Linked DNA regions of Homo sapiens: all the other regions are linked to region 1. The links are contacts of gene promoters, found by promoter capture Hi-C in human tissues and cell types (Jung and others, 2019). All regions are on one chromosome and are shown on one strand. Each heading gives the region's core, a stretch centred on a gene start or on the middle of the fragment in contact. The rest is flanking DNA. Distances are from core to core; before and after follow the strand shown. Region 1 holds the start of SYT4 (synaptotagmin 4). Region 2 has its middle 91 kb from the start of LINC00907. Region 3 has its middle 44 kb from the start of LINC00907.

Region 1 (2,507 bases), core at 6-2,505:
TTAAAAAAATCTGTTAGAGGAACACTCCAATGCCAAGTATGTGGGAGCAAATAGAATAGCAAAGAAAAAAGACTGGTTTATAAAATTTTCCATGATGCAAAGAACTGAAGCCAATTTCTCCCCAGACAGAGCCCTGATGCTCTGGGCTGCTGCTAGCCAATGTGCAGGGACCTGTCACTTGCACAGTAGCTTTCTGAGACTCACCCTGTATCCCTTCTCCCACATCCCAGCACACACTGAATGCCATTTCCTTATTAACTCCAGAGCAAAGAAATTCTTTGCAGAGCAATAATTGACAGTTGGAGTTACAGCTTGACTTCTTTCCTTTGAAAAATTGCTAAGCATTTGTTTTAGAAAGGCACACTCTTCAGATTCCAATGAATCAGAATCCGACACCATATTTTTCACAGTTTTTCACCTCCGAGAATATCATCAGTTTAGAAAAAGGAATGCTTTCCTTTGAAATAACCAATGTTACCAATGTTACTTTAGATGTTGGCCTGATTTTGGAAACTATTTTGTACAAACGTACTAGAAGTCAGGCCTTTTAACCATAAATGTCATTTCAGAAGCGCCTTATTATTTGCAAAAGTCATAACTGAGAGTGACTCTGAATATCCAAGGAATTATCCCCATCTGTTCCTAAGTGCTTTAACTGGTCAAATGTCAGATATTAAAGGGAAGAGAGCTGAGAGACCAGGAAAGATCAACTGTTCCAGCAAAATATTTAGACTAATAATTTATTAGAACATAAAGGATTATACTGGGAAAACTATCTTATATCAAATGCATCAATTTGTAGTGAATCTTTTCTAAATGTAATAAGTATCATAGGTATAACATGTCAAAGAAAAAAATTAAAAAGCAAGAAAACATGTTTTTGCATGTTAAAAAGAGTAATTTGAAGCAGAAACTTCTCCTCTGTAAGTTACGTTATTCTGAAAACTCAGAAACATATTTTTATTCATCTAGGTGATCAGGAGATTTTATATTAGGAACTGACAGGGATCAGTTTCGGGGCTTATCTCGGTGAGCCTCTGAGCCCCCACAAAACAGCAAAGCTAATCTCTAGTGGTCCAACAGTTAAAATAATTGATGAGCATGTGTTGAATCCTCAAGAGAGGAGGGAGGAAGCAAGAAGGAAAGCTTGAAGGGAGGAGGGGAGGGGGGCAGGTGCTGATTTCAGCCCTGTAGCGTCAGGATTGCGTCAATTCGGGTTCCAGCCACGTCTGGAGTCTCGGAGACGAGCTTCTCAGAAGAGCCAAAACAGGAACCGAGGTGGCAAATCACTGTGCGAGGGCGAGTGGACCTCCCTCTTTGCCTCCTCCCTGTTCCAGGAGCTGGTGCCCTGGGCTCTGCGCTGTTGTTTTCAGCGCTCCGAAAGCCGGCGCTTGAGATCCAGGCAAGTGAATCCAGCCAGGCAGTTTTCCCTTCAGCACCTCGGACAGAACACGCAGTAAAAAATGGCTCCGATCACCACCAGCCGGGAAGAATTTGGTAAGCAAGTTACTGAACTTATGACTGCGGTTATTCCTTGAATACTCTGGGGTGGACTGTTTATTCATTTATTTTTTGCCCGGTTGTTGAATACAGATTTCCTAGGTAGTTAATTTAAAAGGAAAATGAGAATGGCAGTCAGGCAATTGTGGCTTATTTCTGCAGCTTCTCTCCCTTCCTTGGTATCTCTCTCCCTGAAACTGTCTTCTGTTAGGGAGAATTTACCTTCAGGAAGTTCTTAAATTTTCAGGTACTTCTGTAAATTGCAGCATGTACTGAGTAAAGAAAAAGGGGTCTGTTTTTCCCATGTTGGTTTCATCTATTTTGTAGGTGATTCTTATTTGTAGGTAAATCTATATTTTATTAGGAGAAGATAAATATATCTCTGGTTACATTGGGGTTTGATCTTGGTTAAAAAAAGCAACTTGTCTATTGGGGTTTGGCAATGTATATTTTATTACAGGGCGTACCATATGGGTGTTTTTCTCTGCTATGTTTTTCTTGTATCCTTGAAATATGTTGCTAGTGAAAGACAGAATCATATGGTAGCAGGGTTAAAGAGAGTTTCAAAATGAACTGGCTCAGCCCATTTCATTTCACTGCTGAGCTAACCAAAGCCCAGAGAGATGAGGGAAGTATTATAGGTTGCACAATTAGCTAAAAGCTGCTGGAAACTTGAATTAGGGCTCCAATTTTCCCGTTCAGTTTTCCTTTTCTCACACCAAGTTTTTGGTTTCAGTACATAAAATTAGACGTACTTCATAGAGTAAAAAAGTACTATTTTTAGATCTCAGTATATTCCAAAGGAAAAAGGTCAGAATTTTACTTACACGTATTTTTTAAATCATGAAATTTCATAGAAGGTTGTGAAGAGGAGTGATATCTACAGATGTGTGATAATTGTTATTAAGCTGAGTAAAATAACTATGATCTTGACTTTCAAGATTGTAAGACCTTATCAGTAGAGAATACATAGGGAGTAGATAAGTGTTTCCACGTTATAGAAAATG
Region 2 (2,507 bases), core at 4-2,503, 1.2 Mb after region 1:
TTTATTCTATTAATCTGTGTGTCTATCCTTAAGCCAGTGCCACACCATCTTGACTACTGTAGCTTTGTAGTAAGTTTATCAGGGAGTTTGAATTCTCTAATTTTTTTTCAATATTCTTTTGGGTATTCTTCATCACTTGCATCTCTCACTTTTTATGTTCTAAATACCATCTACTAACAGATAACTCTCAAAATTATACCTCTCAAATTTCTTTTCTGAAGCTGTGACTCTTATTGAAGCTATGTTTTTAATTGGCAGCCCAGGTAAAATATCTCAGAGCTATCTCAAAGTGTATAAGCTAACTGAAAATTCACCTCTATATCTCCCCCTAAAATATTCAACTTTTCTTCTGTCTTCCTAATCACTGCAAGTGCCCCCAAAATTCACTCTATTGCTCACACCAGGATGCTGAGAGTCAATCTTCATTCCTCCCTCTTCTTCTCTCCCATAGTCAATCCATCAGCAAGTCCTATCCAATTTTTCTCCAAATCATGCTTCAAATTCATTTCCTTTCTCCCTATATCTACTTTTACCACCCTAATCCAAGCCACCAGAATTTTCTCCTAGATTACTAATTAGTCTTCCTGATTTTTCCCCAAAGGTCCATTTTCTATGAAAGAAACAAAGTGATAATTTAATAAGTTAAACCTAATCATTTGGTTCACTGATTTCCTTTGCACTTAAATAAAATTCCAACTTTTCCCATGGTTTATAAGCCCATGTATGATTTGATTCCACCTACCTCTCCAGGCTCCTTTTTTAATGTTTCACCTTTATTACCAGGTTCCAGACATACTAGCTTTCTTTCAGGTTATTGCACAAAGCAAGCTTTTTCATGGCTTAAGACCTTTGCACATGCTGCTCCCTGTAATTAAAATGCCCCTCCTGCTCCCTTTACCCCTCAACCTTTCATGCATGGTTCCTTTCATCATCTATTCTTGGCTTAAAGTATTATCTCCTCAGATGACTTTTTTTGGTGATTATATCTAAACTAGATTTTCCTCTTGTATTCTCTTTAACCACACACAGTTGCTTCTTTCAAAGCACTTACTACATTTTATAACTATTAAATTGCTTGTATGATTGCTTCCTGTCTGTCTCTCCAACTGTTGCCTTACTAGGTTGTAAAATCCATGCAGGTAGGAAACATGTCTGTTCCTTTCACAACTGTACCCCCAATGCTAAACATACAATAAAGATTCAATAAATTATTACTTGAATAAATAACTTTTTTACCCATCTTCAAAAAATTAATAATGCAGAATAGTTACATAATGCTGTGTAGGCCAGACACTGTTACAAGCCCTGTAAATTGAGTTATTTATTTAAAAGATACAACAACTTCAAAAGGTAAATTCTATTATTATATGCTTTTTTTTTTTTGTATGAGGAAATTGAGGTGCAGGGAAGATAAGCAACTTCCTCAGTGTTACTCAGGTAAGATATAAGCAAACATAGATTTAGAACTGAGGTGCTCTGGGTTTGACACCTATGTTCATGACACTAGGCTACACCGATATATACCAGAAAGTAATAATTCCTGTAGAAAAGGAGGGTGGGGACTTTTGGTCTGACTTAGGGAAGCTGGCATTCTCTTCTAGGTCCTGTCTCTGCATGCAGATCTTGGGGGAGAGGATGGAGCAAGTTACATGAGGATCCTAGAGAACTTTTTGTTTTTTTATAAAGCCATTTATTTCAACTCTTTCTAAGATTCAGAGATAAAGGAGTCTTATGGTATAGGAGTAGGTGCCTCTCAAAAGCCCAGTGATGTGGAAGACATCAAGGATCCCCAAATAAAATATTGTTGAGTGAATCAGAAGTCTAGGATGATAACCTAAGGTCAATACCAGGTGGGTAGTTGAAGTTGTCACCTCTTTCAGGTGTAGGTGCTGGTCCTAGGAGAAAATGACTAAGCCCAGAGGTATGTGAAATTAAAAGTGTGGCCAGATGGTAGCCTCATCAGGGCATTGCTATGCACTGGATGGACCTTAACCTTCATACTATCACCTCTGCCCCCACAGCTCACACATAAGCATGCTGAGTTCAGGGTGTGCATAGGGTTTCTTGACTTTTTGTGTTCTATGTCTAAACAAGTTCTTGTTCAAATGGAAAATGTGGCCTCTTGAGAATGTCAGTGTCCCCACTTATTCCATTGTAGATGTAAACGGTACCTTTTTTTCTCTCTTTCTCATTGAACCACATGCATATAAGCCCACCAGAATTCTGTGTTCATGTGGCAAATGGATTGTCAAAGAGTGGTGGTAGACACATACATGGTGGCATATCCTCTGCTGGTACACGTGCTCCATTGTCCCATCAGTCTTCACTTACACAATATCGATTCAAAGATCAAATTAATTATTAAAGCTTTTAAGACAGCAACATCATTGCATTAAACTAAACACAGGGCCCATCAGAATGTGAGGTCTTGTGCAGCTTCACAGATAGCATGCCCATGAAGCTAGTCCTGGTCATTAGTGTATGAATGGCATCTAATGCCACAGGAT
Region 3 (2,507 bases), core at 3-2,502, 1.1 Mb after region 1:
ATATTGATATATTAGGTTTTGATCCTATTGTGAAGTTGTTAGCTGGTTGCTTTTTATTTTCTATTGTGTGGTTGCTTTATAAGGTCTGTGGGCTATGCATTTAAGGGTGTTTTTGTGGTAGCAGGTATCATTCTTTCACTTCTATTTTTAGAACTCCCTAAAGGATCTCATGTAAGGTTGATCTAGTGGTAATGAATTCCATTAGCACTTGCTTGTCTGCATGAACTTTTATTTCTCCTTTGCTTATGAATCCTAGTTTGGCAGGGTATGAAATACTTGTTTGGAGTTTCTTTAAGAATGCTGAAAATGGACCCCAATCTCTCCTGGCTTCTAAGGTTTCTTTTGAGAAATCCACTGTTAGCCTGATGAGGTTCCCTTTGTAAGTGGTCCAACCTTTTTCTCTAGCTGTCTTTAAGATTTTTTTCTTTAATGTTGACTTTGGACAGTCTGATGACTATATGCCTCGATGATGCTCATTTTGTATGGTATCTCACATATTTACTCTGGATTTCTTATATCTGGGTATTTACCTCTCTAGCAAGATTAGGGAAATTTTCTTGAATTATTCCTTCAAATATGTTCTTCAGATTGTTTCCCTTTTCTCCATTTCTCTCAGGAATGTCAATAATTTATATGTTTGGTCACTTTACATGATCCTATATTTCTCAAAGACTTTATTTTTTTAAATTCTTTTTCCTTTATTTTTGTCTGTCTGGGTTAGTTCAAAAGACTGGTCTTCAAGTTCTCAAATTCTTTCTTCTTCTTTGTCCAGTCTATTAATAAAGCTTTCAATTCTATTTTAAAATTCCCTGAATTTTTCAATTCCAGAAGCTCTGTTTAAGTTTTTTGAAGATGTTTATCTCTTCATTTCCTGGAGTGCTTTAGAAGTTTCTTTGTGTTGATTTTCAACCTTGTTGTTGATCTCATTGAGCTTCCTTGCAATCCATTCTTTGCATTCTTTATCTGTTATGTCCGAGTTTCTGTTTTGGTTATGTATTATTGCTGGAGAACTAGCGTGATCCTTCAGGGTTGTCACTACATTAAGATTTTTCATAGTTCCAGAATTTTTGTGCTAGCTCCTCATCTGGAGATGCTGGCATTTCTAAGTTTTGTAATTATTTTTGTCTAGGTAGGACTTTTTCCTTTTTCTTTCTTTCCCTATAATATTATTTTTTCTTATTTCCTTTTCCCATTCCCCCCTCCCCACCAGAGGATACGACTTTAGAGCAAGGATCCCTAGCCCCTGGCCCGAAGACTGGTCCTTGTCCATGGTCCATTAGGAACCAGGGGGCACAGCAGGAAGTGAGCTGCTGGGGAGCAAGCATTACTGCCTGAGCTCCACCCCCTGCAGATCAGCAGTGGCATTAGATTCTTTTTTTTTTTTTTTTTTTTGAGACGGAGTCTCGCTCTGTAGCCCAGGCTGGAGTGCAGTGGCGCAATCTCGGCTCACTGCAAGCTGTGCCTCCCAAGTTCACAGGTTCACGCCATTCTCATGCCGCAGCCTCCCGAGTAGCTGGGACTACAGGCACCCGCCACCACGCCTGGTTAATTTTTTGTATTTTTAGCAGAGATGGGGTTTCACCATGTTAGCCAGGATGGTCTCGATTTCCTTACCTTGTGATCCGCCCGCCTCGACCTCCCAAAGTCCCAAAGTGCTGGGGTTACAGGTGTGAGCCACCGCGCCTGGCTGGCATTAGATTCTCATAGGAGCACAAACCCTATTGTGAACTGTACACGCGAGGGATTTAGGCTGTGCACTCCTTATGAGAATCTAACTAATGCCAGATGATCTGAGGTAGAACAGTTTTACCCTGAAACCATCTCCCCTCCCCTGCCACCATCCTTAGAAAAATTTTTCTTCCACAAAACTGGTCCCTGGTGCCAAAAAGGGTGGGGACTGCTGCATTAGAGAATGCTGGGTGGGTGGGTCTTTTGGCTTCTCTTCTATAGCCCTATGAATGTCAGCAGGTTTATATTGGGCTGTGCAGTTGGACCTACAAGCCAGAAGATGGAGCTTGTGGGTAAGAGTCAAGTGTTGCCAAAGCAGCTGGGTATTTACTTAATCCTTGTTTACTGGCAGAAGCTCTCGTTATCTCAGGGAATGGGCTGATTCATGAGGTGCACTGTGGTCAGAGCTCCCTCTTCAGCCCTAGAGGGGTAGGGGACAAGATGGTCAAGGCTGGACTGGACAGGTCTATCTGCCAGTCCACCAATGGCAGGCACAAGCACCAGCACCAAGGGAGAATCCAGCAGGTAGCCACCAAGTGCCCAGAGGTGTGCTTAGATGTGAAGCTGAGAGGCCTCCTTGGCCCCAAGTTCTCTGCACAGGAATCGAGGACAGCCTAAACTTCTGATCCAGGAAAGTAGGTACTCTAAGTGCTTGAAAATCTGCTGTGCATGGAGTGGAGAGGGCTTCCTCCCCCAGCCCCACACCGGGATCTCTGCAAATAAAACGTGGCCTGCTCAGGCTGCTGTTTTAGGTGACCAGTGCTCCAAATGCCTGGAGA

The links. The method cuts DNA at HindIII sites, captures the fragments that hold promoters and counts their contacts. A contact is called where the count stands out against the background at its distance.
Region 2: a contact is called between a fragment that was not itself captured here and the fragment with the promoter of SYT4 in region 1, in 3 of the 25 tissues and cell types used here (dorsolateral prefrontal cortex, mesenchymal stem cells and spleen).
Region 3: a fragment that was not itself captured here is called in contact with the fragment with the promoter of SYT4 in region 1 in 4 of the 25 tissues and cell types used here (dorsolateral prefrontal cortex, hippocampus, lymphoblastoid cells and 1 more).

What each region holds. Positions count from the first base shown.
Region 1 is chr18:43,276,238-43,278,744 of GRCh38, reverse strand. SYT4 (synaptotagmin 4) reads left to right here and starts at 1,255. Exons shown (of 4, transcript NM_020783.4): 1 at 1,255-1,497. The coding sequence starts at 1,464. The HindIII fragment of the contact is 4,332 bases long and covers 1-2,507 here.
Region 2 is chr18:42,094,524-42,097,030 of GRCh38, reverse strand. No RefSeq gene overlaps it. Among named protein-coding and RNA genes, the nearest start is that of LINC00907, 91 kb to the left of the region's middle. The HindIII fragment of the contact is 6,150 bases long and covers 1-2,507 here.
Region 3 is chr18:42,141,189-42,143,695 of GRCh38, reverse strand. No RefSeq gene overlaps it. Among named protein-coding and RNA genes, the nearest start is that of LINC00907, 44 kb to the left of the region's middle. The HindIII fragment of the contact is 9,153 bases long and covers 1-2,507 here.